3 separate regions of the Homo sapiens genome follow, and all the other regions are linked to region 1. Evidence: promoter capture Hi-C in 16 types of primary human blood cells and fetal thymus (Javierre and others, 2016). All regions are on one chromosome and are shown on one strand. The core of a region is centred on a gene start or on the middle of the fragment in contact, and the rest is flanking DNA. Distances in the headings are between cores, read along the strand shown. Region 1 holds the start of TNFSF15 (TNF superfamily member 15). Region 2 overlaps WHRN (whirlin). Region 3 overlaps WHRN (whirlin).

Region 1 (3,137 bases), core at 49-2,548:
CTGCTGCCTGAATCACAGTCTGTTTGTTGACCCTGATGGGGCAGCGAGAATTACAGATTTTCCATGGCTTACTTGTGGTGTCTATGCTTTGAAACTGGCCAGGATTGCTTAGAGGCTAGGTTTCCAGTTAAACCCATTGAAAACCCATTTTTTTCCCTTTGCAATTTAATACTTTGAACTGAAATGAAATCAGCCACCATAGATTATGAAGGGACATTTTTAAAAAGGATATTACTGGAAAGACTCATTCCTTAGGTTTTGAGGTACATCTTTGTTGTTCCCAGCCAAGAATTATGTTTTCTTCTTGACACCTATCGCTGCCCCTACCATTGTTCTCCCTAGACTTCATATTCTTTTTCTGACTAGGCTTCTCCCAGGCCTCAGCAAGACCTTAGAGATAGACAACCAGGCAGGAGGTTCTTTCTTAAGCTCTAAAAAGAGAAAAAGTTCTAAACCCAAGAAAAAGAGTGGGTAAAGAAATTATAGCATCCACATATAGGAATGTGTATCTATAGCATCATGTTGTTGTGAATTCATTAGCATATAAATAAAATCATAATATATTAGCAGACTCAGAATAATCTCGTCTCATTAAAAAATCCGTTTTATATCTGGCATATAATTCTGTACAGAATTATATATCCCAAACTGTTAACAGTGGTCAGCTATAAGAGTTATGGGTAATGATGACTTTCTTCCTCTCCTTATCTGTATTTTCTAACTTTTTTCAATGACCGTGTTAGTTATGTAATTTTAAGTTTTTTTCTTAAATAAAAAGAATCTTCCCAAATTACCAGTATACTATGATTATAATTATCTAAAAAATATGAGGCTGAAGGTTATCCCCACAGTAAAAGAAGGGACTGTTCATTCCCTAGAAATATTGAGAATAAACACCAAATTGAACCTCTCCACCCCTCCCACTCTACATTTCCTCTGCATGTAGAAACAAGAAATGTGATACATCAAGAAACTCTATCCTCTGTCCAGAGCTGAAATAGTTGCCACTCACTGCAGAGAGTCCACTGCTCCTCCCCAAGGTCAGAGTGCCATGTGGCTTACCTGGAACTGCACACAGGCCTCTCCCTGGGCCCGGAGCTGGCTGACAAGCAGGTATGTGGTGAGTCCTGCAAGGAAGGGGAGCAACACCAGGCAGCAGGTGAGAGCCCAGCGTGCGCTGCTGCTCCTGGCCTTGGGCCTGCAGCTGCCGTGCTCTGGCAGCATTTCCACACTGGCTGTTTCCCCAAAGCTCAGTCCCAGATCCTCGGCCATGCTCCTGCTGCTCCTGGAGGCACCTCTGACTCCTGGGCAGAGAGAGCCCCCATTAAATAGAAGACCAGCTCTCACAGTGGGTGACTTAATCACTCAGTCTCCTCCTTCCCTTTTCCTCTCCCCTCCCCTCTTCAAGAGCACACTGTGGCCCTACCCTGCTAGAGAATGCACCGCCTACAACAGAAACCAAGTTTGGTTTGAGGAAAAAAAAAAAAAAAAAAAAAAGAAGAAGAAGGAGAAGAAGAAAGCTTTCCCAAGCATATTTATATACAGTATGCTCATGTGCTCCTTCCTTCGTTTACAGAAGGAAGTTAGGAAAGTCCCTGAAGGAGGAGAGAAAGAATTCATCAAGTCAGTGGGTGGGGCAAATTAAAATATACCTGTTCCCTGCACTGGAGGCTTACCAGCTGTGCCAGTCTGGGGAGTGTGCTTCTGGAAGTGAAAGTGAGGGATGAGAGGTGTGTGGTTTGCAGATTGGGAAACGGAAATCACATTTGCATCAGCTCTTTGCAAAGTGCTGCCTAGCCCTCTGTCATTTTGAACCTCATAGAAATTCATTCTCAGTGTACAGATGGGAATAGCAAAGTTCTAAAAGGTGAAGGCACTTGTCCTAGGTCATCCAAGGATGAAGACAGAGGAGCTAGGAAGATGACCTAGTTCTAAATCACGGCTTGGAGTTGTAACCTCTAGCACATGACTGCCCATGAAAGGAAAGTATTTCCAGTCTGCATTGACCATTGTTTAATCAGAGTATGAGGCCACAGATCGAGGTGACTGTCTGTGAGGGTAGAACATTAACCACTACTCCCTGATTAGTCTAAAGTTAATTGATCATGTGATGTGCTTTGCCTGCAGTTGGGTGTGGGGGCCACAACATGTAATAAAAGATTATATTTATTAAGTGCTTACTTTGTGCCAATCACTGCTCTAAGTTAAATACATCAATAAAATTATTCAATCCTGAGATAAATTTTGTGACAATAAAGCTATCATTCTCATTTTACACATAAGAAAATAAAGCACAGACGGCAAGTGGTAGAGCCAGGATTGGGACTCAGGCAGGCTGGCTGCTGGCTTCTTCACCATCACACTTCACCATAGGTACTGCTGGATCATGCATGTTCATAAATACCTGCACTGTCTTTACCCAGGAGTGGGTAAGACCCTGCAGTGAGGGGGTTGAGGGGGCTTCCTGGAGAAAGAGGTGGTGTTGGAACTCGGCCTTAGAGCTCAGGGAGGGTTGATCTCAGAGGAAAGTAAAGGACCCTGGGAAAAGATGGGTTCTAGAAATAATAGGAAAGTTTAAGGAATGGCCTGTGATGTACGGCAGAAACCAGTTTTACTAGCGCCTCCATCCAGTTGCTACTTCTGGTTATGTCACAGCCTGGACTCTTCAGGCTACTTGGAAAGGCCTTTCATGGCTTGGTCCCTGCTCACTGTCACCCGTCCCCAGTGTCCAGCCTCAACTTTTACTACTTTCCCAAGCTGCAGTTCCCTGGATACACTATTGACTAGCTGTACTGTTGCAAAATGGAAGTGTCCAGTCCTCTTCCTTCATATCACTATGCTCCTATGCTCATTCTAGCAAAGGATGATTTTCATGTCCCATGGCTACTCATTCTTGGTTTAACAAATCTATTAAAAAATGTCTTTGAGACTAACCTAAATCTCTGCTATTGTAACTTAACCTTTCTTTTCTATGCTCCTGTTCCTTAATTGTGTGTAGAAACCATTTTTGTATCCGCCTGCCTCCAAGATTGGGTAAGATGATCATATTCTATGTTCCTATAGCTTCCCTTTCTTCCCTATCATTGAATACCTCCTACTAGACTATGTTTGACCATTCCTTCTGTCTCCCCAATTAG
Region 2 (2,985 bases), core at 464-2,963, 370 kb before region 1:
AGGCATTAATATGCGTGAAATCCCAGGTTGGCTGTGCGAGTCACATTGTCCTCATGCCTGTTAAGTAAATATATCCCTACCAGATTTGAAGAGGCAGCATAGATTCCTGTGCAATCTGCCTGGGGAACGGCTGTGAAATGGGAGTCACACTTGGGAAACCCTGACTTACTGGGGACGTGTAAGCCCATCTTCCCAATCTCTTTTCAATCCTCTCCTGTCTCTTCTTCCTCCAGAGCCTGTGTTCAAACCAAAGTGCTAGGTAGGACTGGCTTCAGGGTCTCCACAGGGCCCTCCGCAGCATGTGAGTTGGTTTTGAGTGGCTCCCATTTTTCTGTGTCCAGCTCTCTCCCTTTTCCTCTACTTGTTGGAAAGCTTCCCCAGGTCTAGGAGCCCTGTCAGAAGAGCTGTCTACACGATCACTGTGATGTAGAGTCCACAAACCACTTTCAACCAAGTCTGGTGTCTTCTCTGCTGCTAGTGTCCTAGTGTCACCCCGTGTGGCCAGTGGAGTGTGGAGTCCCATCCCTACATTGCAGCCTCTAGTTTTAAAGCCAGGCAACCGTGACATAGTAGCTGAGTGGCCCCGCACAGCTCTCAAGTACAACCTGAGTCTCAGTTTTGTCATCTATAAGATGGGCATGATACTACCACTAGTTCCCAGGTAGCTGTGAGAATCAAATGGAACCACCCTGCACAGAGCCTGAGACACATCAGGCTTTCCATGGCTTCTCATGTGCTTCTCTTCCAGATACAGGAGACAGGTTCAGAGATGTTGAGGGACTTGCTCAAGGTCACTGGTCGTACTGGAAGTAAACAAATGAACCAGCCTTTGAGCCTAATCTTCTCATCTTCTTCCTACCAGCCTATGCCACCTTCACCCCAGCACAGCACTGGCATGCGGGAGATGCTTAGGAAATAGTGAATGGATGGGGGGACCCGGCCTTCCTCCTCTCTTGTTCTCACTTCTGTTTGTTTCCCCTTTCCCGTCAGTTGGTGTGAGTGAATTTGGAGGCAGCATGTTTAAAGATCTTACTCTCACTCTTTCCCAAAGAAAACTAAGAGCTCTGTTTGTTTGTTCATTGCAATGTGGCTTTTTCCTACCCACTGAAACCAACTCAGAGTTAGACGGCACAGGAAAATAAAGCAGAAAATAGAGGCAAAGATGCTGTATCCATCGGGGCCTTCCAAGGCGTCTCTTATAGATGCAGAATCCAAGGCTCAGAAAGGACAGGAACATGTCTAGGGCCACAGAGCAAGGCAACAGCAAAGCCCAGACCCACAGCTAACCGTGGAAACACTCATATCCCTCCACCAGAGCTCACTGGGACAGGACGTGCTGGAGATAGGAGAGACAGGTGCCAAGTGTGATCGAGTGTCTAATATTGCTCAGCTTGCTTGCAGGGCACTGATGGGGAGGACAAGGAAAGATAAACGAATAAAGGCAGCTTTATTTTATTTGTCACCATGGGAATCCTATTTGTCACCACTGATGGAGGAGTGGAGGGTGGACCATGGAATGCCCTTCATTTTAAGGCAGAGGAAAGACTCCTCCATCATCCACAGCCCACTGAGTGACTGGCTCATGTTCAGACACTTTGAGAAGAGCACGGCGGGGCTTCAATAAGGGCAGGATACCGATTTCCCTGAAATTGGCCAACCACCAGTAAGCAGAGAATTCAATTCCCTTAGGTCTGGGGCAGGCGCAGGAGCCCCAGGAGGAGAGGGGACCCTCGTAACAGCGGAAACACTCAGTGGACCTTGCTGGGTTAACGGAGCCCTCTTACTCTCCAAGAGACCTGAGGAAAATAATTTCATTGTTCTAAGCCTTCCTTCCCAAAATGGGAACAAGACCACTAACAGCTAGTGTGTTGTGCAAAGTACACCAGTGGCCATCTGGTGTGTGTTTCTGAGCACAGACCCAGGAGTCTCTGACTAATTCTACACTCTGTCACTTACTTGCTGTATGACCTTGGGTAATTGACTTCACTTCTCTGTGCCTGTTACCTCCTCTGGAAAATAGAGATCATATCAGTACCTGGTTGACAAATGAGTTAATACATTCCCCAGTGTATCACCAACACTTAAAACAGGGTCTGGCACATAGTAGGTGCTCAATAAATATTTACTGAATGAACAAGTATAAAGCACATAAACAAGTAGCTAACATACAGTAACTGCATGGGTCTCCATGGGGCCATAAATGCAATAAATGCATTTTTGAAAGCCATGCTTATCCCTGAATTCACCTGTTGATCACTCACCAACCAAATCTAGCAATTCTACCTCCAGGGTGTCTCTCAGCGCCACCCTCTACCTTTCCACCTACCTTCCCCAGGGCCCTGCCTCTGGCTTCCACTGACCTACACACATTGACCACACCCATGAAACTCATATTTTAATCCCATTTTACAGATGAGGAAGCCGAGGACGGGAAGTAGAGTCATTAAGAGCTGGGATCTGGCCTTCATTCTACCAGCCAGCAAGGCCCCTGCACGAACCAATACCACACTCTCCTTTAAGAAAAGCCAGCCTGCCCTTCCTCTACTTCTTACCCCTCCCAGCCCTGGGCTTTAGGCCATGCACTCAGTAGGTGCTGTATTCGTGCCCGATGAAGGGAACTGGCAGGAAGAACCTGTGGCGGAATGGCAGTAGCTTCGAGCTCCCTCGCCAGAAGTTGTTAGGAGAGAAGGCTGCCAACAACCTGATCCCGAGGCTGAGCTGGGAGACGGGAATCCATCCTCTCAGGCCGCGCGTGCACCTGTACCAGCCACGCTGGGAAGGGCCCGAAAGAAGCCGATTTCAGAGTTGCCTTCAGCACCCTCCCAAGCCTGTGTTAAAATGGATCTTGCGGCTTCAAGGGAGGTCCCTGTTGGCTACAGCATTATCACAAGGAAAATTCAAATTCTATTAAAGAGTTTTATTGCAATTATGAATCTTTAATAGTTTTCCATGTCAGGTGTAAAACTTTAATGGGCTGTTTTTTTT
Region 3 (2,959 bases), core at 430-2,929, 390 kb before region 1:
TCATCCTATGTATTGTGTTTTATTTTAAACATTTAAAGCTTTATTCTAAGAAGGGGTCCCAGCACTTCACCAGCCTGCCAGAGGGGTCTATGGCACAGAAATGAGGAAGACCCCCAGTCCTAAGTCAGTGCTTTGTCCAAGTTCCCCTTTGATAGCTTGGGAAGTCCTCACTCAGAGGGCAGCTGGGGCCAGCCCATGTTCAAACAGGCTCTGACCTCCATGGGCTTGGCTCTGTTTGGTGGAAAGAGCTTCCAGCAATCCCAAGTTGTCACAGGGGAAGGCAGGTGTTCCATAAACCGCTACAGAGACAGCAAAGCACTGGCTGAGAGGAATGGTCCTATTCAGGCTCCAGGTAAAGCTGTGGCCGGCCTGAGAGGCTTTAATGCCTCTGGGCAAACTGATGATTCTGGAAGGTGCAGGGGGCACATGCTGAGGCCTCCCTGGGATGGAGTGGGCTCTTCTACTCAAGGAGAAGACACCTATCATCCTCGATATGCCCTCTCTGGGCACTCAGCAGCTTCCTGGGGTGGGGGACAGGAGGTCATCTGGACAGGAACAACAGCCTCTCCTGGTCACCCGCATCCACCTTGCACCTCTGGGCTCTCTCCACACAGAAGAGGCAGCTTAAAAAATGTAAACAGAGGGCTGGGTGCTGTGGCTCACACCTGTAATCCTAGCACTTTGAGAGGCCAAGGCGGGAGGATCCCTTGAGGCCAGAAGTTTGAGACCAGCTTGGGCAACATAGTGAGACCCCCATCACTACAAAAAAATGTAAAAATTAGCTGTGCATGGGAGCATGTGCGCCTGTGGCCCCAGTTACTCAGGAGGCTGAGGTGGGAGGACCACTTAAGCCCAGGAGTTCAAGGCTGTAGTGAGCTACCCCAACAGAGACCCTATCTCTTAAAAAAAAAAAAAACACAAACAGGATCACATCACATCCTTACTCAAGATTCTCCAGAGTATCCCATGGTTTTAGGGTTAAACACAAACGCCTCCCGCTCCTGACCCTCGCCCCTCTACCCCTCACTCCTGACACTCCAGCCCTACTGGTCTCCTTCCATTCTTCTGAGTGGCCATGTGCCAACCTGCTCAGGGCCCTCAGACATGCCCCACCAGCTCCTCAGCTGTCTCACCTCATCTATTGCCTGGCTGTAGCCAACAACTTCAGATCTTAGCTTCAACCTCTCTCCCCAAGTACCCCAGACTGGTCGGGGCCCATGTATGTTCTCACACCACCCTTCAGCCCGCTTTATCAGAGTGTGAGTTATGGAGATGATTTGAGTTGAGGTAGCCTCCTCCACTGGACTTGATCAGCTTCAAGAGCACAGGCTCAGCCCCTGGCAGGCAGGAGATGCTCCACAAAGGCTGCTGCATAGAAGAAGGAGTGGCTGAACGCATGACTGAAGGAATACATGGAGTTCCTCTCTTACCCCGCTCATGGATGGAGAACGATTCTCTAAACCATCCAGGTTGGACCAAAGTCAGGATGCAGGAGGAAAAATAAGGCCCTTTGACAGTTTTCTACTTGTTTCTGAAAAAAAAAAGCTGGTTTGACAGTGAGGGGTCCCTGCAGCTGGAGGGGCCTGAGACAAGCCTGAGCTTCTCCCAGTTCACTGTGCTGCAGACAAGGAGGGAGGCACAGAGGCCACAGAAGGAGGCCAATGCAGAGAAGCACTGACAGCCACATCTACTGCCCCCTATTCACCTTCTTTTTGGGGGACAAGAGGAGGGAAGAAGGACAGTAAGGCCTTCAGGGGCAGGGATCCTGTCCCCAGCATCCTTGGGCAGGGGCTGGGAGCCTCCTTCCAGGCATATGACAGGGCTGGAGCACAAACTCTCTCAAATCCAGGTGGAAAAAGCCTGAGGTCAAGTCCAGGGCAAATCCCAGCTGCTGCCACCTGACCTCAAGGGCATTTGCTCCTTGAGTACAAGGCTGGCCTTGACCTCTCCAATCCCCTTTTCTCTACAATGCTCTGCAGTGCCTGAAATGCTTTGGCTATGTATCCTCACCCAAATCTCATGTTGAATTGTAATCCCCAGTGTTGGGGGAGGAATCTGGTGGGAGGTGATCGGATCATGCGAGCAGATTTCCCTTTTGCTGTTCTCGTGATAGTGAGTAAGTTCTCATGTGATCTGGTTGCTTAAAAGTGTACAGGACTTCCCCCTTCTCTTCCTCCTCCTCCAGCCATGTAAGATGTGCCTGCTTCCCCTTCAAACTTCCACCATAATTTTAAGTTTCCCGAGGCCTCCCCAGCCATGCTTCCTGTACGGCCTACAGAACTGTGGGTCAATTAAACCTCTTTTCTTCATAAATTTCCCAGTCTCAGGCAGTTTCTTACAGTAGTGTGAGAACGGATTAATACAGGGCCCTTTTCCAACCTTTGGAGTAGAAACAGAATGGGCTCCTCCACACTCCACACCTGCATATCCACTCCTGATCTCACTGAATCTTCAGAACAACCCAGACAGCTGGTCTTATCAGCCCACCGTACAGATGCAGAAATGGAGGCCCAGAAGACACAAGTCATCTGCCCAAGGTGACAAAGCTACTACTCTGGAAAGCAGAACCCAGCTGGTAGGATCCCAGAATCTGTGCAATTAAGCCCCTCTGCCACAGGCATGCTGGCACTAGATGAAGAATTCAAGAAATAACAGGCAGGCCTTTCTTCTTTCACTCTGCTCTCTCGGCCAACATCTTTATGGGGGAAATGATATTGTGTGAAGGCAGCATAAAATGCTCAGGGCTGGCTCTCTGTTAGACAAATGGAAAATCAACACAGTTTGTGAATGGGGGAAAGCTGGATCTGATTTCCTTTGATTGACTGTGTCTGCTTTGAGGGGAAATGGCTGCAGAATGAGCCACATTTAACCTGGGATCAATAACCACACAGCATGATCCGAGGAATTCAGGCTAAATGGAAACTGGCTCCATTTGGGGCCAGTGTCTGGGGCATCTCGG

What was found. The method cuts DNA at HindIII sites, captures the fragments that hold promoters and counts their contacts. A CHiCAGO score of 5 or more calls a contact.
Region 2: a fragment that was not itself captured here is called in contact with the fragment with the promoter of TNFSF15 in region 1 in 1 of 17 cell types (total B cells); the score reaches 5.2 in total B cells.
Region 3: a fragment that was not itself captured here is called in contact with the fragment with the promoter of TNFSF15 in region 1 in 2 of 17 cell types (M0 macrophages and neutrophils); the score reaches 5.0 in M0 macrophages.

The regions. Positions count from the first base shown.
Region 1 is chr9:114,804,741-114,807,877 of GRCh38, forward strand. TNFSF15 (TNF superfamily member 15) reads right to left here and starts at 1,299. Exons shown (of 4, transcript NM_005118.4): 1 at 1,063-1,299. The coding sequence starts at 1,272. The HindIII fragment of the contact is 3,139 bases long and covers 1-1,518 here.
Region 2 is chr9:114,430,617-114,433,601 of GRCh38, forward strand. All of the region lies in intron 3 of WHRN (whirlin), which reads right to left. Among named protein-coding and RNA genes, the nearest start is that of AKNA, 44 kb to the left of the region's middle. The HindIII fragment of the contact is 2,686 bases long and covers 371-2,985 here.
Region 3 is chr9:114,414,372-114,417,330 of GRCh38, forward strand. The region is part of intron 7 of WHRN (whirlin); the gene reads right to left. Among named protein-coding and RNA genes, the nearest start is that of AKNA, 28 kb to the left of the region's middle. The HindIII fragment of the contact is 3,286 bases long and covers 37-2,959 here.